Regions from separate parts of the Homo sapiens genome. Here region 1 is linked to region 2. Evidence: promoter capture Hi-C in 16 types of primary human blood cells and fetal thymus (Javierre and others, 2016). All regions are on one chromosome and are shown on one strand. Each heading gives the region's core, a stretch centred on a gene start or on the middle of the fragment in contact. The rest is flanking DNA. Distances are from core to core; before and after follow the strand shown.

Region 1 (2,700 bases), core at 169-2,668, 48 kb after region 2:
TGAACTTGATGAGGATGCTCCAGGTGGTGAGCGCCTGGTTGGGCAGCCAACACAGGAAGAAGGACAGGACAACGATGGTCACTGATTTGGTGACCTTCGACAGTCTCCGGGCGCTGGCTCCGGTCGGGCGTCCTCCGGCTACCGCGGCCCCTCCTTTGGTCCCCGCCGCGCGGCGGTCGGCGATGAAGCGCACCAGCAGCAGGTAGCACAAGATAATGATGCCCAGCGGCAGCACGAAGCCCAGCAGCACCTTCTGCGAGTGGTAGAGGCCCAGCCAGAACTGCCTGTCGCGGCCCAGCAACTTGTCCGGGAAACGCACCAGGCACAGCTCCTCGCCCATCACCTTGACCGTGGTGGAGAAAATGGCACTGGGCAGCGAGGCCAGCGCGGCCAAAGCCCAGATCCACACACACAGCGCCTTGGCCGAGAAGCAGCAGCTGTCCCCCAGGCTCCGGCCGCAGCAGTCGCCCCGGCCGTGTCCTCGGGTCCGGTGGCTCTTCAGAGCCGAGGCCACCGAATGGTAGCGCGTCACACTCATGGCAGTGAGGAAGAACACGCTGGCGTACATGTTCATGGACGTCACCATGGACACGATCTTACACATGGCCTTGCCGAAGGGCCATTTGAAGTCAAGAGCGTTCTCCACCGCCCAGAAGGGCAGGGTGAGCACAAACTGAAAGTCCGTCAGCGCCAGGTTGGTGACGAAGAGGTTGATAGAGGACTTGCGCCAGCCCTGCATGCTCTTCATCAGGTAGAGAACCAGCAGGTTGCCCGCCAACCCCAGGGCGCACACCACCCAGTACACCACGCTGATGAGAATCCGCACCCGGGCCTCTGTGTCCGCGCTCTCTGCCCCGCCGCTGCCCGGGGGATGTCCTGGCGGCGCGCCGTCCGGCAACTCCAGCCCCAGCTCCCACCACAAGTCCGGAAGCTGCAGCGACGCGTTACCACTCGTGTTGGCCGCCTCCAGAAGGTCCGGGACCAGACTGAAGAGTTCTGCTAGCTTGTCCCCGCCTGCTGCCTTATTCATGGTGGCTATCGTGGCTGCATCGGCCATCTGCATGCGCAGGTACCTCTAGGTCATGTTCTGGGGGACAAGACCTAAGATAACACGGTTTACCCCAGTTTTGTTGCCAGGCTAGCCTGCGGGACGTGCGTGGGAGCTTTCAAAGCAGCTACTGAAGAGAGAGCCCAGGAACTGGGTACTAAGCGCGTCCTGGCGCGCAGCGAACGCCCTGGACGCAGGAGTTGAGCTCAGCGGCTGCTTTGGAGCAGAGTTGAGGAGTGCAGCCCGTAAGGCAAGCACTCGGCGTCCAAGGGTTCTCAGGCCAAGCTCGGAGTCCCTAGGTCCTTATGTACAACGCAGACTTCCCCTCTCCGTGTCCCGCGGTCACTGGGGCACTGGCGCATAACTCCCCCAGCCGCTCAATTGTGCGATTTGGGGCCGCTCGCTCCCTTTCAAATACCTTTATCCGTTTCCTCTGGGACTGCTTGGATGAGGTTTCCGTCCTTGGAGAGAAAGAGATCGTAGAGTTCCATCCACCACGCTCAGCTTCCTGGAGGTCAGTGGGTGTCTGCGTCTCTCCGCGGTTGTCAACTCCGGGTGGGTTGCCAGCGGCTCTCACCAGTTACGGTGGCACTTGCACGGCCAAGGCGGCGGGCCCCAAGGAGCATGCGTAATCCCGGGGCGCCGCGAGGGGCGCTTTCCGAGGTGCTGAACCCAGCCGCGCCCGCGCCGCGAGGGAGAGTTGAGCTGCAGGCAAAGCCCACCCGCCACTCCAGTTTTCCTCTCCAGAGTTTCAGCAGGAAGGGTCTTAAGAGTTTATTTTACAGCTGCAGGAGAAAGTCGGCTTTGACGTGAGTTTCTTCTTCCTTTCTTATTCCCAAACATTATGATTAGAAGTTTTTTTTTTCTTTCTTCCTCACTCCCACTTTTCACCGGAATTATTCCATTTGGTGAGGAATTGTTCTAAAAATATGAGCTATCCTGCTTACTTTCCTTCTTGAAAGTAATAACAGTGGCCTCTTTTCATGCTCAAATGAGATAATGGGTACTTATTGGATACACAAAGGACAGCTCCACCTCCCCTCTTTAATTAGCTGACCACTTACGCAGTACCTGTGTTTGTCAGGATTTTCAAAGGGTCTTCACATGGCAGAAGTCTGGGCTCAAGGGTTGCCCCTACTTTAATGTATTCTGAGAGGTGACACAAAAACAGAGCAAACAACTGATGGTCCTACTTCACAGAAATTAAATGCCCTAAGCCCAAAGCGCTTCAACAAATTGTTTGATCACATACAGGCCACAGTCTCTTTACCTAGATGCAAATAGAATAGAGGATACCACTGGGCTGATCGTGAACCACCAGCCCTCCTATTTCCATTACTGTTAGCATCAGGACTCTTTTTCAGGCGTTTTTCAGACCAATGGAAGTACATTCTAAGGACTCTTCCAAGGGAATGAGTGGAAACCACTTGAATTACTTCTCAAGCTTCAGTCTACATAAATGCCAGGTCAATCGCTCTGGTGTAAATTACACTTTTAGGATTTACTTTAAAATTTTGAAATGTTTTCCTCTTGGTCTGGGACTAAACTGAAACCAAAGTTTCTTAAGCATAATTGTCCTCACTCCTGGAGTACTACAGAACTCCCAGCTTTACTTAAGGAGATAAAGAGGATGCAACCTTCAAGCTGAGGAG
Region 2 (2,700 bases), core at 100-2,599:
AATAACGTCTGTGAGAGAGAAGCCATGTGTGTGATCATGTAAAATAACGTGTGTGAGAGAAGCCATGTGTGTGATCGTGTAAAATAACGTGTGTGAGAAGCCGTGTGTGATGTGTAATAACACGTGTGTGAGAGAGAAGCTATGTGTGCAATCATGTGTAATAGCATGTGTGTGTGAGAGAAGCCATGAGTCCGATCATGTGTAATAACGAGAAAAGCCCCATGTGTGATCATGTGTAATAGTGTGTGTGAGAGAAAAGCCATGTGTGTGGTCATGTGTAATAATGTGTATGAGAGAGAAGCCGTGTGTGATCGTTGTGTAATAACGTGTGTGAGAGAGAAACCATGTGTGATCATGTGCAATAGCATGTGTGTGTGAGAGAAGCCATGTGTGATCATGTGCAATAGTGTGTGAGAGAGAAGCTGTCATGTGTAATAATGTGTGAGAGAAGCCATGTATGATCATGTGTAATAACGTGAGAGAAGCCATGTGTGACCATGTGTAATAACGTGTGTGAGAGAAGCCATGTGTGTGGTCATGTGTAATAAAATGCATGAGAAGCCATGTGTGATCATGTGTAATAGCATGTGAGAGAGAAGCCATGTATGATCATGTGTAATAACGCATGTGAGAGAAGCCATGTGTGACCATGTGTAATGTGTGTGAGAGAAGCCATGTGTGATCATGTGTAATAGCATGTGTGTGAGAAGCCATGTGTATGATCATGTGTAATAACATGCATGAGAGAAGCCGTGTGTGATCATGTGTAATAGCATGTATGTGAGAAACCATGTGTGATCATGTGTAATGTGTGTGAGAGAAGCCATGTGTGTGATCATGTGTAATAGCATGTGTGTGAGAAGCCGTGTGTGATCATGTGTAATAGCATGTGTGTGTGAGAAGCCAGGTGTGATCACGTTTAATAGCGTGTGTGTGAGAGAAGCCATGTGTGTGATCATGTGTAATAATGTGTGTGTGAGAGAAGCCACGTGTGTGATCATGTGTAATAGCATGTGTGTGTGAGAGAGAAACCATGTGTGTGATCATGTGTAATACTGTCTGAGAGAGCCCATGTGTGTGATCACGTGTAATAACGTGTGTGTGAGAGGGAGAGAAGCCATGTGTGTGATCACGTGTAATTGTGTGTGTGTGTGAGAGAGAGAGAAAGAGAGAGGGAACAGTACAAAGGAGGATCCCTTTAGAAAAGTATTCCAACGTCTTATGGAGCCAGAGGGCTGATTCACAGCTGCTAATCTCTGTCATGCTTTCCAGCACCACCCCCTCCCTCTCATCATAACTTGTGATCTTAGAGGCAGGAAAGAATTTGAGCCCCTCCCCCAGCCTGACCATCTCTGTTGGTTGCTCGGCCAGGCTCCACGTCAAATCCAGTTTGAAACACAGACCCTAGGACCACGCAGGAGGTGGTGGGCTCGCAGGAAGGTTCCTCTCCCAGTGGCCATGGGTAGCAACAGTGGGCAGGCTGGCCGCCACATCTATAAATCCCTAGCTGATGATGGCCCCTTTGACTCTGTGGAGCCGCCTAAAAGACCCACCAGCAGACTCATCATGCACAGCATGGCCATGTTCGGAAGAGAGTTCTGCTACGCGGTGGAGGCAGCGTATGTGACCCCAGTCCTGCTCAGCGTAGGTCTGCCCAGCAGCCTGTACAGCATTGTGTGGTTCCTCAGCCCCATCCTGGGATTCCTGCTGCAGCCCGTGGTCGGATCGGCCAGCGACCACTGCCGGTCCAGGTGGGGCCGCCGGAGACCCTACATCCTCACCCTGGGAGTCATGATGCTCGTGGGCATGGCTCTGTACCTCAATGGGGCTACTGTTGTAGCAGGTAAGTGGGCTGCACAAGGTGGGCAGACAGGGATATGTGTCTTAGTGTGTACCTCTGCAGGAGGAGGATGTTCATGTGTTTGACCTTTCCTAGAAATTTGTTAGAATTGATCTCTCCTAGGTTACAATGAACTTCCCCTTTGACAAATTTGGCCCAGATTCTGTGGTTGGGGAGCCTCTACTTCTAGAAATATCAAAATAAATATGTTTCATTGTTGTGAAGATTTAAAAATAGGATTAAATTTGTATCTATTTTATTAAATTTGTATCTATTTTATCGAATTGAATATTTTTACATATTTATCAATTGAGTTACTTTTTGAGCCCATTATGCTCTATTTAATACTCTTATCAAATTGACTGGCTGCCAAATAGCTCCATAAATATTTACAATAAGTCACCTGTGTATCCAAATAAGTTAATTCTGTTCATAGTTTTATGTAGAGCGTTTTAATAGGCGTAGGGCATAAGCCCATCAGCTCAAGAGGACCTTTCTGGCATTGCAAATTCTGGACAAAAGCAAACCTGAGGGTAGGCATTTTTTCTAGCCATTAATCAGCTACCAATTAATCAGTAATTGATGGTAGTACAATAAAGTTGCATTGCAAAAAGGATCGCTAAAAATAGCACACATTTGTAGATCATTAACTCTCAAGCTAGCAGAATCGGTGATTATGAGGCAGGATAATCAATTATCATTTGTACATATTTGAAAGAAAGCGTAAATGTACAAATGTAGGATATTTCCAGGAGAATGAACAAAAAGCTGATAAGCATTGTTGACTCTAAGGAGGATTACTGAAGGACAGGAGGTGAGAAGTGGCGGGTAGACTTATTGTTCATTTAATTTTATACTGC

What was found. The method cuts DNA at HindIII sites, captures the fragments that hold promoters and counts their contacts. A CHiCAGO score of 5 or more calls a contact.
Region 1: a contact is called between the fragment with the promoter of RXFP3 here and the fragment with the promoter of SLC45A2 in region 2, in 13 of 17 cell types (neutrophils, activated CD4 T cells, naive CD8 T cells and 10 more). The highest score is 18.3, in neutrophils.

What each region holds. Positions count from the first base shown.
Region 1 is chr5:33,935,104-33,937,803 of GRCh38, reverse strand. It overlaps RXFP3 (relaxin family peptide receptor 3), which reads right to left and starts at 1,418. Exons shown (of 1, transcript NM_016568.3): 1 at 1-1,418. The coding sequence starts at 1,063. The HindIII fragment of the contact is 5,701 bases long and covers 1-2,494 here.
Region 2 is chr5:33,983,342-33,986,041 of GRCh38, reverse strand. It overlaps SLC45A2 (solute carrier family 45 member 2), which reads left to right and starts at 1,349. Exons shown (of 7, transcript NM_016180.5): 1 at 1,349-1,843. The coding sequence starts at 1,459. The HindIII fragment of the contact is 8,753 bases long and covers 1-2,700 here.